Regions from separate parts of the Homo sapiens genome. Here region 2 is linked to region 1. Evidence: promoter capture Hi-C in 16 types of primary human blood cells and fetal thymus (Javierre and others, 2016). All regions are on one chromosome and are shown on one strand. Each heading gives the region's core, a stretch centred on a gene start or on the middle of the fragment in contact. The rest is flanking DNA. Distances are from core to core; before and after follow the strand shown. Region 1 holds the start of RNF170 (ring finger protein 170). Region 2 overlaps KAT6A (lysine acetyltransferase 6A).

Region 1 (7,913 bases), core at 3,136-5,635:
AGAGCCATGGTCCTCAAAATGTGGTCCCTATGTCACCAACAATGGCATCACCTGGGAACCTATTAGAAATACAAAATCTCAGGCCCAGCCCAGACCTACAGAACTAGCAACTCTGGGCATCTGTGTTTTAGCAAGCTCTCCAGATGATGCAGATCAACACTAAAGCATGAGAATCTCTGGTGAAGTTAGCAAACATAAAGTTAAATATCAATGCAATCAAAACACAGAGGTGAAGTTACAAAGTCACATCAGTTAGTATAGAACAAAACTAGGATTTGAACCCAGGCTGCCTAATGTCAGAACCTGTATGTACTCTTATGCTATACTATCTTTTTAAGTACTTTAACTTTTGTACATCAGTGACTTATTCTTCCATTAGAGGACAAAAATTGTTGGCAGAATCGAGTTAGGCAGAGGAGAATGGAATGGGGGAGATACCACCATAATAATTATACCACCCCCAATTCTATATACTAGTATGCATTTTATAGGCTGCCAAATAAGTAATATGAAAACAATAAGGACATATTAATGTTGCTAGGTTATCCCAAAGTGTACCGAGCCTATGTGATGACTTTTTTTGTCATAACTTGGTAGCATTGTAGACTTCGTTTTTCAGTCTCTAAAACCTGGAAAAGTGCTATCTTTTCATCGAGATTCACATACAGTTCAAGAAATTAGGCTTCACAGGTGTAATTGGCAGGGCAAATTTTGACTCAGAGGGTGGAGAGAGGAGGCACAGTGGAAATTTTCAAGCATGTCCTGCTGAACTTGTTTGCATAAACTTTGATTTGGAATTTAAGCTTAAGATGTTTCCCCTTGGTAAGATGATACTTAACTCTTTTTGTAACTCTCTCTTTCGAAAAAATTTGGAACATATGGTTCTTGGGCTAGTAGGCTGTCTGATAAAAGGGCAATTTATCTAGCATATGAGGCAATGAGACGTTCCATTGAGTTCTGTATAGGTGACAGAATCATCCCTTTAAGTACTTGAGCTTTTATTACTTTAGCCATTTCTAGTGGAATAATTTCTAAAATGTACTATATACATCTCTCCAATCTCAAACTAAATGCTATGTAGTGAAAACAAACTTTTATCTGATACTCAGGAATATAATTATGATCTTCAAAACTTGAACAGGGAGGCTCTAGAAGTACATAAGGCTGTCATCCCAAAGACGGAATCATTCAGCTCTTAGATCTTGTCTGTCACTGACAGTTGTCTGCATTTTGCTGAGTGTCAGTCACCTTCTAGCTTACTGTGTGAGAGCAAAACCCCCCACACAACCAAACTGACTAGAAGCTGACATAAAATCAAGAAAACTAATCTAAATGAGTCTTTTCTTTGGAGTGTATGTGTACATTTTTGCTTGCATTTGGTTTTAGAATTGTGCTTAGCATTAATCTGGCTTACAGATAGGAGGGGTGATATTATACATTTAAATGTCATCAAACATTGCTCATTGAAACATTTATTCTGCTTTTTATAATGACAGCTAAAAGAGAACAAACCCAGCATTTAAACTCTATTTTGAAACATGTCTTTTAAAGTGTTTCCAAATTTTAGAACTGTACATCTTCATGAACACTGCCCTCCAATTTTGTCACTGATAATCTCTAATCTTATCCAGAAATTCTCATTGATGAGTTTCCAGTGACATTTCAAAAAGCCTATTCTACAATACTATACTCCCTGACCTCTCTACAGCTGATAATGTGGATTACTCGTTTTCTTGACATTTTAGGAGATTCTAAATAGATTCTCTCATGTTGTCAGGTTCTGTCAGCAGGCCTTCAAACTTCTAAGATTTCTCCTGTATATTTTTATCAGCATTTCTCACTTAAATAAATGCAATTACTACCTACCATATTTTGTGGATACCCTTCAAATACAGACGGTCCCCAACTTAGGATGGTTTAACTTAAGACTTTTCAACTTTACAATGATGCAAGATACACATTCAGTAGAAACCATACTCTGAGTGCCCATACAACCATTATATTTTTCATTTTCAGTACAGTGTTCAATAAATTGCATTAGATATTCAACAATTTATTATAAAACACGTTTTGTGGTAGATGATTTTGCCCAATTGTAGGCTAAGGTAAGTGTTCTGAGCACGTTTAAGGTAGACCAAGCTAAGCTACCGTTTGGACGGTTAGGCGTATGAAATGCATTTTCAACTTACGGTATTTTCAACTTATGATGGGTTTACCGGGATGTAACCCCATCGCAAGTTAAGGAGCCTCTGTACACCTCTTTATTTCCATGTCTTCTTTCTCCCTAGATTTTAAACAATGTAGCCCTACTTAGATTCAATTAGCTTCATCTTTGCCTTCTGGCTGCTTCTTCTAGCATAAAGGGAAGCACTACTTGCACAGTCTCAAAAACTTAAATCTTAAGTTCCTCAGCATTCTGTTTACAGATGTACAGATTCTGCCAAATCTATTCCTTCCACAACATCAAAGAATTTAGTAATTCTTTCCTCTCTCTCTCTCCCCTGCCTAGTCAGAAACCTCAGCCACATTATACAACTTACCAGTCTTCCTCTTTTCTGAAATACAGCAGTGAAAGCCATCTCCTTGCCTGGAGGGAGAACTCATCAGAAGGGTAAGCTGCACGCTAACTACATACTACTGCTAACGATCTGAAATCCCCTAAATGGTCTGATATGCAACTGGCTACTCAAGCTCTACCAAGTCTGTTTCAGAGGACAGAAATTGATTCGTGACGTAGCCAAACTATAAAAACCTCAGACTATTTTTATTAATTTTTTTAACAACCAACGTAAGGCAATACTTCTCCAGCCTTTCCAGCAAAGTGCCTTGCACAGGATCGTGACGTCTACACTCCAGGGATCCTGACTCGTAACCCAAGACACCGCTAAAGAGAATTTCTCTCACATTCGTGTTTTACCTTTAAAAGTAATACAAATGCTGTAGTAGCCTTCATAAACACATCCGTAAACATTTAATTAACATTCTCAGCAATGAGTGAAACGGAGGCTCCCGAAGGCAGCGCGGGGTCCGCCCGGGCTCTGCGCATCCCTCCCCCTCCCCGGCCGCGCCGCGGCGAGAACGACTGGAACCCGGGCGTCGGTTCCCCTGCCGCGTCCTGAAGACCCGGCTTCAGGAAGGCGCGGCAGCTGACGTGAGAGGTGAACATGTATTTACTTCAAAGTATGAGGAATCTAAAACCGTTTAAGAATTCAAAATCAGAATCCCACGACTCTGTCCCCCAAGGCCTTCGAGTTCCATTGTTGACGCCCAGACACCTCCAGACTCCTTTAAACGTCTGCCCGACGCCTCTGACAGGCGTCCGCCCCTCGCGCACTCCCACCGCCAGCGGTGCCTTGCATCCGAAACGGGGTCCCCGGGCGCCTCCCGCATTCTCCCCACGCTCCCTCACAGGTCCTTTCAGTTCCCGGGCCGGAGCCGGGCCCGTCCTCCGCGAACGCGGCAACAAAGGCGAGGAGCGGCGGCGGGTCCTGGACGCGGGGCAGTCAGGCTCGGCCACCCCCAGAGCGCAGCGCAGCCCCAGCTGCGAGCAGCCGCACGGATCCCAGAGTCGCCCGCCGCGTTCCCAGCCCAGCCCCGGCCGGGGTCCGCCCGGAACAGCGACGCCTCAGGCCCGGCAAGTCTCTCTCGGACCCTGGGCCGAGCCTCCTCGCCCCGCCCGCCCCAGGCCCCGGATGTGACGGCACCGTCGCCCGCAGCGCTCGCCCCACGGGCCGCGCGTGGAGGGTCCCGGTAGGTGGCGGGGGGAGGGGGTCTTCCCGCCGGCCCGCGGCCCCCACGTACCCAAGTGAGGAGGCTCTCGCACAGCTCCGCCCGCTCCAGCGACTCTACGCTGAACATCTTCCCCGCCGCGGCCAGGCAGCGCCTACCGCCTGGCCAGACACCGCCGCCGCTCTGTCGGGGGATCCGGGGGCCCGCGCAGCTGACTCGGCCTCAGGCCCGCCTGCTCCTCGGATCCGGCCGCCGACTCTCGCCCAGCGCTGGCAGCGGCTCCGCACCGTCACCCCCAGCGCCCCTCCTTCTCCTTTCACTCGGGACCGCGCGCCAGCCGCGCGCGACTTCGGACACGCCCGCCGCCCCGCGTCCCCGCCCCCGGCCGCCCACACCGCTCCTCCCCAGCGCCGCCGCCCTGGCTGGAGCCGAGGCCGAGGAGCCACTGCGCACGCTCGCGCCCCGGCCGACCCGCGCCGCCGCGCCGCCGCCGCCGCCGCCGCCGCCGCCGCTGCCGCCGGGCGCGCCCCCGCCACCAGTTCGCTGCGTGTCGAGGCGAGCACGCGCTCCGCCCTGGAGGCTGCGGCGACGGGTCCTCCTCCGCCGTCCGGTCGCGCCCTCGCGGAAGCTCGGCAGTGCGCGTGCGCCCGCACCCGCACTCCAAATTAGAAAGGGGACGTCTAGTGGGTTGCCCGGGAGGGGTGGCGGGAGCGGTCCTGGAAATAATCTGTCCTCTGTCGCCGGGAACTGGCGAGGTAGTTCCTTCGCGGTGGAGAGGTACGTCCGGCGCGCGGCGGCCACGCCCACCCTATCGGGGCCCGCGGAGCCGCGGACGGCGGGGTCTGGCCTTCTTGGGGTAGCTCTGGCCGCCGAGGCTCTGCGGGGCGGCGGGAGTCGCCGCCTCCTTCCCCCCGGGCCCCTCCCTCGTCTGGAAGCCCCAGAATCGCCCCGCGGCTGTCCGGAGTCGCCGGCGACGGTGGAGGGGCCGACGCGGAGAGCGGCTCTAGGTGGGTTTGGCGGCGGCGAGGACACCGCCGCTCCCTCTAGGGTCGCTCGGAGCGTGACCCTGAGAACTCTCCTTAATGCAGGAGGGGTGTGCGCCCGCTCGCCAATCCGTAAGGACACCGGCCGACCCCGGGCCTGCGTTTCTCAGCGTTCGGAGTTGCCTTCGCTTAATGGCGAGGCGGATCGTTCTGGAGCTTCCACCTCTTTAGAGGCACGAATCTGTCTGCTGGGCTGCCGATAAATTTTTAACAGATATAGCATACGCAGAAAAGTGCATACGACATACACGTTTAAAGAAGAATTAATAAAACACCCAGATAAAAACGAAAAGGGCATTACCGGCACCCCAGGAGTTTCTCACCCATGCCCTGTGCTCCTTTCGGAGCCTGATTGTCTCCTAGCCTGACTAGTGTGATCATTTCCTTACAGCTTTACCATCTATGTGTGCATGCGATGTCGTTTTCCTTTGCCTGTTTTTGAACTTTTGCGGGTGGATCACAGTGTGTTGTTTTGTGGTTTTCAATCAGTATTAAATTGGTGTACTGTGTATGTATAGGTAATTTTAATTGTTGCCTAGTATTCCAGTGTGAATAGAACAGTGAATCCATTCTACTCTGGTTGGGCATTTTGTTCAGACTGAGGCCACTCAGAACATGGCTATAAACATTCTAGTGTACCTGGAACGTAGTGCAAATATGTTGGAATTTCCAGGACATGCACTTTGGAGTCCTTAGAGAATTGTCGATGCGTAGAGTATGCATAACTACCACCCAATGCCAAATTTTTATTTGGAGTGCAACAAAGCTAACTTCCCAAGACACACTTTGCTTTGTAGTTCCTGGAACCCCTTTCCCCCACTTTTTTTCCATTAAGAGTAGGTTTTCTCATTGAGCACTGAAAACTGCCAAGACAGCATTGAGTGGGGTTTTTTGTTGTTGTTGATGGTGGTTTTTGAGAAAGGGTCTCGTTCTGGAGTGCAGTGGCGCAATCTTGGTTCACTGCAACCTCTGCCTCCTGGGCTCAAGTGATCCTCCTACCTCAGCCTCCCAAGTAGCTGGAACCACAGGTGCAGGCCACGATGCTCAGCTAATTTTCTTATTTTTTGTAGAGAGGGGGTCTCGCTATGTTGCCCAGGCTGGTCTCAAATTCCTGGGCTCAAGTGATCCGCCCGCCTTAGCCTCCCAAAAGTGCTGGGATCAAAAGTGTGAGCCACCGAGCCTGGGTCAGCAGTGAGTTTTTAAGGTTGCCTTACAGAGTACCACTTGATAGTTGACCCCTGATCATTTAGCATTTTGTAAGTGTAAAAAAAAAAAAACTTACCTGAAGTATTCTCAATGGTCTTTTTTTCAAACATTCTTCCCTACACCAAGGGCAGAGAAACCTTTAGAAATTACACATACGTGGCCAGGCGCGGTGTCTCGCGCCTGTAATCCCAGCACTTTGGGAGGCCGAGGCGAGCGGATCACGATGTCAAGAGATCCTGGCCAACATGGTGAAACCCCGTCTCTACTAAAAATACAAAAATTAGCCGGGCGTGGTGGCGGGCTCCTGTAGTCCCAGCTACTCGGGAGGCTGAGGCAGGAGAATCGCTTGAACGCGGGAGGCTGAGGTTGCAGTGAGCCGAGATCGCGCCACTGCACTCCATCCTGACGACAGAACGAGAATCTGTCTCAAAAGAAAAAAAAAATTACACATGTGTGTCTCGCCTGTGTTTGGTTCCTGTGTTGGTGCCTCTGGATATTTGTCAAACTAGAGTTCCTACATTCCTTATCAGGTTATTTCTGTCGAATCTCTAGCACTTTTAAGTGACGTATAATCTTGTAGGCAAGTGAATGAAGTCAGTGAGTATATGTCACATTGACTTACTCCTGACTCACATGCAGCTTGTCTTTAGATGGGCAGATAAGATGCTGGCCCTACTGGAGCGACTGTGGTTGTGCCGTCCTGAGCACCCTTCCTCCAGTGGCCCCGGTTTTCAAGGCTTTGACACAATGGACCTAAAGTCTCCTTTTTCAAGCTTGGCTGCATATCCACAGTGCTTTTGTGCATGATGTTACGTTGTTCTGGAGGTTTCATTTTGTAATTCCAGTTACCTTTGATGAAAGAAATTAGTAAAAACTTTTTGGATGTGAGTAATTGCAGAAGCCATGTGGCTGCTGAGTTTCTACGTAAGCCTTGGGGTAAAAAGACACTGAGATTCTCTCCTTTGTTCCAGGAAGTCCCGGAATTTCCTATTTTTCTATTTTCTCTGTGTGTTTTATTTTTTTTCCTTCCCTGAAAGCTTTGGAAATGCCTGAGGAGAGGTGAGTTGAACTTGTCTTAGCTGTCTGGTTACTCCGGTTAGTTGGAGGCTAGTTCTCACCCACAGCTGCTTATCAGATTAAAGAGGGCATGTCCTGTGTGACAGTGCTCCAGATTGCATCCTGTCTTCCCAGGGAACACATACTTAGAGCTGTGATTAAAGAGAGTTTGAGATGCTATGTGGAGCAGCTCTGGGGCAGGCATGGCTAGTTTTTATCATATCAAAACATGGCTAGTTTTATCATGATTCCTTGGCGGTTGTTAATAATATTAACCAAACACTGTAGCTTCCATTTACTGAGAGCCTATATGATGTGCCAAGCAGTATGCTAAATGCCTTACCTTCATTATCTCATTATAAACTTCACAAGGCAAAGCACTTCCCCTGCCACACCCGCCCCAAAAAAGAGTGGCAGTTTGATATGGTTCAACCTAATGCCTTTTACGTATGAGGAAGCTGAGACTGAAACTTTATGTAAGTCCAGGGCTGTCTGACTCTGGAACTTGTGCTTGTTTGCTGTCTGAAGATACTGCTCAATAAGATGTAGCCAGCTGAGCAATAGCAAAGCCAGTTTCTCTGCAAACTTCTATCAGTTACACTGCACAGTTTCCAAGATGGATGGGGTTCAGTTTTTGTGAATCTTAAACAGTTCAAAACCGAGTATTAGTAACTCTTCTTTTCATATTTTACAGGATACCATGAAATAGATTACATCCCATGTTCTATACATTTAATAACCTTGTTTTTGGGTTTAATGTAAACAACCTTTAGTGGCCACTACAACATGTAAGACCCTGCGCACTACTAACAGTAATAAGATATGATTCCTGACTGAAAGGAATTCATTCTTTAAAAATGTATTTTTAATTTTTATAGA
Region 2 (7,913 bases), core at 2,320-4,819, 940 kb after region 1:
TGCAGTGGCGCGATCTGGGCTCATTGCAAGCTCTGCCTCCTGGGTTCACCCCATTCTCCTGCCTCAGCCTCTGAGTAGCTGGGACTACAGGTGCCCGCCACCAAGCTCCTCAGCTAATTTTTTGTATTTTTAGTAGAGATGGGGTTTCACCTTGTTAGCCAGGATGGTCTCGATCTCCTGACCTCGTGATCCGCCCACCTCAGCCTCCCAGAGTGCTGGGATTACAGGCGTGAGCCACCACGCCCGGCCTTTTCTAACTCATTTTGCAATAAAGTCCCACTTGACCTGAACTGAGTTACTGACAAAAACATGATCTGAGCTGATGTGAGACTATTTGTATTCCTTACTTATGCCAGTTAATGTGAATATTCATATGCTTTGCTAAAGAAATTTTAGTGTGTCTGATTATGGAGTGCTGCTCCAAATCCTACTAGGGCTATACACATGCATGTACTATACACATATATGTACTAATACTTTTCTAAAATCAGAAAAATTCAGAATTCCAAAACACATTCTACTCCAGTCCAAGGGTTTTGGGTTAAAAGTTTGTGGACTTGTAGCTTCATTTCTTTGGAAAACCAAGTTCCCGTTTTTAAAAACTTACCCATAAACTTTGGGAATTTAGGGAGGAATTAGTTGAGGGCTGTCGTTACTTCCGTCACATCTCAACCCATGTCATTCTTTTCTGTCTTTATGCTTCACTCGCTGTTCCTGCCCGGTGCTTTTGCCTCTTAACCTGAGGCTTATCTGAGGCTTATTTTTTCATCTGCAGAGTGGGTATATTGTTTTCTACTTTGAAGGATGGATTGTGGGGACCAAAGGAGGTAACGACATAAGGCTCAGGTCAGAGTCTAGCACAATAGGTGCTCCACGAACATGATTTTCTCTAGTCCTTAAATTCATGCTCTCTCTGTTGTGGAGCATGTGAATTCATTCTTTCATACCTCTTTCATCATGTAACTTTTAATCCCTAATGAATGGAATTACTTACTGTAGTGTTTCTGTGGGAAAATGTTCAAATGCCAGAAAGCCATCTCTTCTCCCCACATTCCCAGCCTCACACTGATAATAAAGGGGTACCTCCCTCTCTCCTCAAAACATTGCACCCCCTTGGGGAATGGAGAGGGAAGGGCAAGTGAGAGCGCTCCAGTGGACAGATGGGGGAAGGCAGCAGCTCTGTGTTTACAGAAATTGTTAAATTATTTACACAATTTTGGTGTCCCTACCAGATCCAGAGTTGGGGATACTGCAAGAATGGCCTTTTTTATGTTACAAACTGGAATTAGATGAGTCATTTAATTGAAGCTTAAGTTTTTGTAGAAGAGTAATACTCTTTTCATATAAACTGGTGGTAATAAAAGCTTTATTATCTAGCAGTAGGCATAAAGTTTTCTTTTGGTTTAGCCCAATTATTAGTGTATTTAATCCACCCCCTTGCTACCCCCTGTTAGTTATCTTAGATTAAAAGGTCAATTCTAGCCTGGAACATACGTCTTCTTTTAAATAATTTGGCATATTTAAATTAGGAGGACATGAAGTGGCAGAATTTGAGTTAAACATTTAAATATATTTTGTGCCCTTGATTATATTAGACACCTGCTGCTTTGGAAAGTCACATGTTTAGCGAAAACGTACTTTGGTTGAAATGTTAAAATAAAAAGACCTAGCAAAGGTAACCTTGTAGTTCAGATATGACAGTTTGATTTTGGCTAGGACTGGAATGAGTGGTTTCTGTGTAGCCATTTCTTCCTCCCTGTGTAGAGAGCCTTGCTGATTTCTAAATCTTCGTAAAAGGAAACACCCTTGCTGTGGAGGCTTGCTCAGGGGAGCTGGGAGTGGAGGCGGGCTCACACATGAGCGCATGTGCAGGAACGTTTCACGGTGCAAAGGTTAAAGGCGGGTGTGGGCAGAGGGGAACCTACCACAGGTCCCATTCTGGACAGACGTGCGCAGTTGTGGTGATGTGCAAACAGCTGTACTGGAACTGGATATCCACTTTCACATCGGGCATCCGCCTAGAAGAGCAGCGGGCAGCTGATGGGAAGACCCTCAAACAACAGACAGTGCCGCAGCAGGTGCATGACTTCAGCTTTTGGGCTTTCTATCTGATCCTTGCCTCAGGAAGTTAGATCTGGTTTCTGGTATTTAGTTATTTTGAAAGTTTCCTATACTGTTGTTATTACTTTGAGTTGTGAAGATAGATGAAAAGATAGTACTTTATGAGTTAGAGTAGTTGATTCTAGAATGTAGTTTAAAAACAGCCTTTAAAAAATCTTTTTACAAAGTTCTGTTTGGGTTTTGAGAAATGAAAGAAATCTTATTTTAACCCTGTATTATGTATTCTTCATTGTTTTTGGTTTTGTATTTGGAGGAGCCCCAGTACTTGGTGGTGTTATAACACAATTCATCCCACAAACAGATCTTTGTCTTTTGTTTTGAGGTGTCTAAGGAAGAGCTTGAGGTTTCATTTGGCTACATTCCAGTATGAAACCTGAGATAAGTCCCTTGGCCTTTTATAAAAGAGAATGGTTAGAAAGACCAGAAGGTCTCTAATGAGTTATGGTGAAGAGGCTTCTTTAAACGGATTTATATAAAACCAATGAATAAAAATTTCTTTTAGTTTTGTTATAAAATATGTATGTGTGTCTGCATGCTCCAACAAGGGATTTTTACTAGTCTCTTAGTGGTCTTTAAAGCATAAAATTGAAGGATAATTTCAGTTATCCTTTTGGGGAAGAGTTATTAATGCTTGTTTTTGGTTAGGCTAAACTCTTTTGTCTTTTTCTTGTCAGTTAGTATTTGTAGAGCATCCATGATATATCTGCACTCACACACATGGACATGAGTGTGTATATGCATCTGTTGCTAGACTGGGTGCAGAGCAAGTCATGTTGCCCTTGAGTTAACATGTTAAGACCCTTAACAGCCTTTATTTTCTTGAGCTACGTACTTATGTTTGAATTTCTGATCTGGAAAGTCAGGGAAGTCATAAAGGCTTTAAAAATTATTCTCTGTTTAGATAATGTAGTTCAGACTATTGCAGGGATGAGGGGTATAGAGATTGTTTTCATTGTAAAGAGAAGGCAGAAAAAAGAGAAGGTCTGTATATAACAGAGTGTCTTTCTTTGGTTAAATCTATGCAGAGCTACTAATGAAGGGAATTTTAGGCATAGTATGAAATGAAGACTCTCTTGATACTTGTTTTGTCAGATTCTTTTTGTATTTCTCTTAAATATCTACTTTCCCAAACTAAAAAATCATCCTTTGTGTGCTTACATATTCAGTAGGGCATCTCCATTGTTGTCAGCGGAGGCAGTGTGGTAGGACTTCAGCAAATATGCAGTGTCCCCCTCCCTCACTTGTAAATTATTCTTTATCTTATATCACCAAGTATCAGCAGTTTCTCTTTAATATTAAGTCATTAAGAGTGAGTTTAATTGAGGAAAATATTTTTACTGTTATTAAATGTAGAAATGCAGCAACACCCAATGCATTTGGTTCTAAGAGATTTATTAGCATTTTTATTTTTCATCTGGGTGCTCTGTTTAAGGAATAATATAACTTATTTCAAAATATGTTAGCTTGTTCTGGCTTTTGTTTTTGTTTTACTCCTTTGGAGTCCTGAGAAGACAACATTTAGATTCAGAACTTTCTTTGTTATCTCAGTGTGTCTAATTTAGCTAACTTTTGAATGTATTTCTTGACTGCACAGAAAGTTGGAGTGACTGGTCCCCCTGATCCACAAGTCCGCTGTCCCTCTGTCATTGAGTTTGGGAAGTATGAAATTCACACCTGGTACTCCTCCCCATATCCTCAAGAATACTCAAGGTATGTTTTGAGAGACCCTTGACCTTCTGTTTTGAGATCCATAGAAGTCTGGAACTGGAAGGGATCTTGAAGATGTTTGAGTCCACCTTATCCTTTACATTTGAGGAAACTGGGGGCTTTTAAATGTCCATAATAGCAGCGGCTTTGGCAGCCACTTCATCCCAGTTTGCTTTAGATGTTCTCTTCTGTAACCTCTCAGACGCTGATGTTTAAAATGAGAAACCCGAATGCATGGTCACAATAAAAGGGGAATGCTTTTTTATTTTTTTTTTAAGAGAAATTTGTCTTCACTCCTATCACTAAGAATTTTGAAAAAGAGAAGAACTCATATATAAATTAATATAAAGTTTCAGTTGATTAGTCTTTGATGTAAATAAATATTTATAATTTGACAAACTTAATAAATGGTTTGTTTTCCCAGAAATAATTGGACAATTGGTGTAAAAATTATATATAAATAGTTTGGGCTTCCAGATATATTAATAAACATTGATCACTCACCAGCTTGGTGGAGCTAAAGTGGTTTCATGACTCAGCTCTGAAATTGGTAAGTTGTGTAACCTTAAAAGCTGCCCAACTGCTCTGTGCCTCAGTTTCCTCATCTGTAAAGCAGAGATAGTAATAGTACTTACTTCGTGGGGATATTGAGGACATTAAATGAGCTACAACATGTAAATCACTTAGAAAATGGTAAGTGCTCAATAATGTCAGTTATTATATTTTTTCTTTATGGTTAAAATTAAAAGATGAAATGAGATCAAAAAATTAAATACTAGTTAATTGTAGTGACATTAATGCTCTCTAATCTATAAACTACTTATGCCTCAGTTTCCCATTTAGTAGGGTGTTACAAGAAATAATACATCATGGTGCTTTGTGGGTTAAATACATGTTCAGAATATTCTCATCATGTAAGTTTTCACCCATGTAGTAACATTGCCTGGCCAAAATATTAGCAAAATTTATTTAGTACCTTACAATATGTTGAGTGCCTTAACATGGGTTGTTGCCAAGAAACTAGGAATAGGCCAGTATAGTTGTTAAAAGGGCCATCCAGTAAAACTTATTTATCTTTTTACTTTTTCTTTCCATATAATAACTTGCTTCTCTAGTCTACAGTCGAAGTAGAAAAATAGGGGTAAGAATGCCATTTCAGACACTGACCTCAAAGTGACAGCTAACAAAAACAGAAGAAAAAGCAAAACCCCAGGAAACTAACACACAAGCTCATGAAACACAGCAATTGAGGGCCATTTACTGTGGGATCAGTTAGCCCCAAACACTGTGGTGTATCTTTAAGGAAGCACACTGTTTCATGAGCTGACAACAATTAATGTGACTTTAAGATAAGGTTACATTGTATTTGCATTTCCATATTATACATATATATTATACATGTATGTATTGTATATGTATATATGTTAAAGGAAGGCAGGAACTTCCTCAACTACCTACAGAACTCAGCGTTCAAGTTAACTCATTCCTCAGGAATTCTGAATAGCCAAGATCTTTTATGACCGAGAAGAAATACGCCAAGGACACGCCTGTAATCCCAGCACTTTGGGAGGCCGAGATAGGCAGATCGCCTGAGGTCAGGAGTTCAAGACCAGCCTGGCCAACATGGCGAAACCCTGTCTCTACTAAAAATATAAAAATTAGCCAGGCGTGGTGGTGGGTGCCTGTAATCCCAGCTACTCAGGAGGCTGAGGTAGGAGAATCGCTTGAACCTGGGAGGCGGAGGTTGCAGTGAACTGAGATCGCGCCATTGCACTCTCGCCTGGGCAACAGGAGCGAAACTCCATCTCAAAAGAAAAGAAAATAAATATGCCAAGGAATTAATTTTTTCATCAGGTTTAAAATAAGTTGTTATGATCATTTTTTAAGTGAGCTCTTTGCAAGCTGCCCAAATCACAAGAGCACTCAACTTAGAAAAGAAAGCTTTTCCACATGTCTGTCAACTGTTCCGGAGACTATAGTACAGATAGATGGAAACCACAGGCCCCTTGTCTACTCAAGGTGGGGAGAGGAAATAGATTCAGGAATGGAAATAGAGGGCTAGCATTTACTTTTGTTCAAGAGAATGATGAGAATGGAATCATAAACTGTTTTCTTTTAAGATAGATATTTAAAGGATTTATTGAAAATGTAGCTTTTGTTCTGATGAGATTTTCATTAGAAACAGGTGTGAGGAGACTAGTTATCAGTGAAAGAATAAATAATGCCATCAAAAAATAACCAAAAAAAGTATAATAGGAACCAGTAGAAAGCAGAAACAGGATAGGAACTTGTAAAATTCATCAACTTCCTTAAGCAGTTTTAGACATTTTCTGTATATTTTTTCATCCATTGGATAGGGTTCTTTGAGTTTTCAATTAGAAAATATCCTGTAATTTTTAATAGGTTCTTGAGTAATTATGACTTTTTTTCTATCTTTATATTCGTAGTTCTCTTGGTTACATTTTTTAAAAAAATTATATTTACTTAAATGAGCTTGAAACTTGAGGTGACTAAAATGTTTGGAGATCTTACATTTTCCAAATAATAAACCTCTATTCTTAATTTTGTTAATGCCTATTTATTATTTCGTGCTAAACTGCTTATAAATTATTTTCTTATTAAAGGTTTCAAACACTGTAACGTACAAAAACAGGGCAATAGGAGCAAACAAAAATGCAAAGATCACAAGAAAAACGTCTTTTGGGAAGTGGGATTATACTTTACGGAATGTTCTTTCATATCCAGATATTTGTGTATGCATTGCCTATTAAGTAATCTTGTATCCCTGTCTTTAAAAATCAAAAACAATGAAGCAATAATACTGTTTCATTTGGTTTATCAGTAGGTTCATTGCGAAACCTACTCTGCCATTAAGAGCATGACATAGATGGGCTTAAGGCAAAAGAAATTATGATCATTGGATGCCCTCTGCTCCTGTGCTGCTTTGAGCTTAGCTTTGAGATCCTAAAGAGGTAGATTCCTAGGTGATAGAGTAGCCTAGGAAGATTCCTCTGCCTTTTGATTCTCCTCTGGACTTTATTTGATGCTTAGATTATGAGATTGTCACTAGAACCAGTTTGATTATTCTCGTCATCCCAGTTACTGAAGAAGAAACCAAATAGAATCCCTAATGCCTTTGGCTATTAAATTATTGAGTAAAATTGATGGAAGAAGAATACAAATAATAATCGTTAAGTAATAGCAGCTGTAATTACCATCCATTGAGCTTGGTACTGGACTAAGCATCTCTGGTGTAATTCTGTGAGATGAATATTACTGTATTCATTTTGCAGACCTGGTCCCAGACAGTACAGTGTATAAGTGGCAGAACTTGAAGCTCACTTCTCTCTTACTGCATAGCCATAACCATTAATCACTGGGCCTACGCTGCTCCATGTAGCATGTGTATCTAGGTTGATCTCACTTGACTTGTACCATAATCTTAGATTTAAGTAATATTTGGTATAATTTTTATTGTTACATTAAAAATTTGCTACAAGTTGACTGCACAAACTGCTACTATGTTGGGCCATGTTCAGAAGCCAGAAGGTACTGTAGAAATTCCTGAGAATAATAATTGCATCATTCTAGAAGTTAGAGAAGCATGCCCAGCTGCAGCACAGCCCTGATTCCATGGGCTGGGTTATCAGCATTGTGGCAGACTTTAGAATCAACTTCCAGTGTGGAGGTGACACTTCATGTGCAGTTGATCAAAGCCACCGTACAGCTACCTGTTTGATAGCTGAGACCTAGGTCCTGCCAGGAAGATCACTAAAAGCAGCCCCCAACAAGATTCTCTAGGGCTAGGAGTATTCATAATCTTTATAACTACATTTCATTTCCTGTAGTCTCATGTTCTTTCTATATGATAGATCTTTTTTTTCTGTGAGAGAACAGCAGTTGTTTATAATATTTCTAGAAATATTTTGGTTTTCCAGTAGTTTTTTTTCTAGATGATTCCCTTTAGATTAGCAGTATCATCCCAGTGGGCTTGGTTCTAATAAAGTAAGGAGCTTTTAAAATGTTTTCAGTGAGAACTAGATTGGAATAAAGTAGATCATAATGCTTGTTTTCAGTTTACTATT

Evidence for each region. The method cuts DNA at HindIII sites, captures the fragments that hold promoters and counts their contacts. A CHiCAGO score of 5 or more calls a contact.
Region 2: a contact is called between a fragment that was not itself captured here and the fragment with the promoter of RNF170 in region 1, in 1 of 17 cell types (total CD8 T cells). The highest score is 5.5, in total CD8 T cells.

Annotation. Positions count from the first base shown.
Region 1 is chr8:42,893,077-42,900,989 of GRCh38, reverse strand. It overlaps RNF170 (ring finger protein 170), which reads left to right and starts at 4,385. Exons shown (of 7, transcript NM_030954.4): 1 at 4,385-4,506. It overlaps HOOK3 (hook microtubule tethering protein 3), which reads right to left and starts at 4,012. Exons shown (of 22, transcript NM_032410.4): 1 at 3,802-4,012. The coding sequence starts at 3,858. It overlaps MIR4469 (microRNA 4469), which reads left to right and starts at 4,715; the gene lies at 4,715-4,793. RefSeq lists silencers at 3,394-3,453, 3,464-4,253, 4,434-4,793, 4,589-4,800 and an enhancer at 4,707-5,268. The HindIII fragment of the contact is 5,948 bases long and covers 806-6,753 here.
Region 2 is chr8:41,951,214-41,959,126 of GRCh38, reverse strand. It overlaps KAT6A (lysine acetyltransferase 6A), which reads left to right. Exons shown (of 17, transcript NM_006766.5): 9 at 3,716-3,831. Among named protein-coding and RNA genes, the nearest start is that of KAT6A-AS1, 97 kb to the left of the region's middle. RefSeq lists an enhancer at 2,090-2,139. The HindIII fragment of the contact is 4,405 bases long and covers 1,367-5,771 here.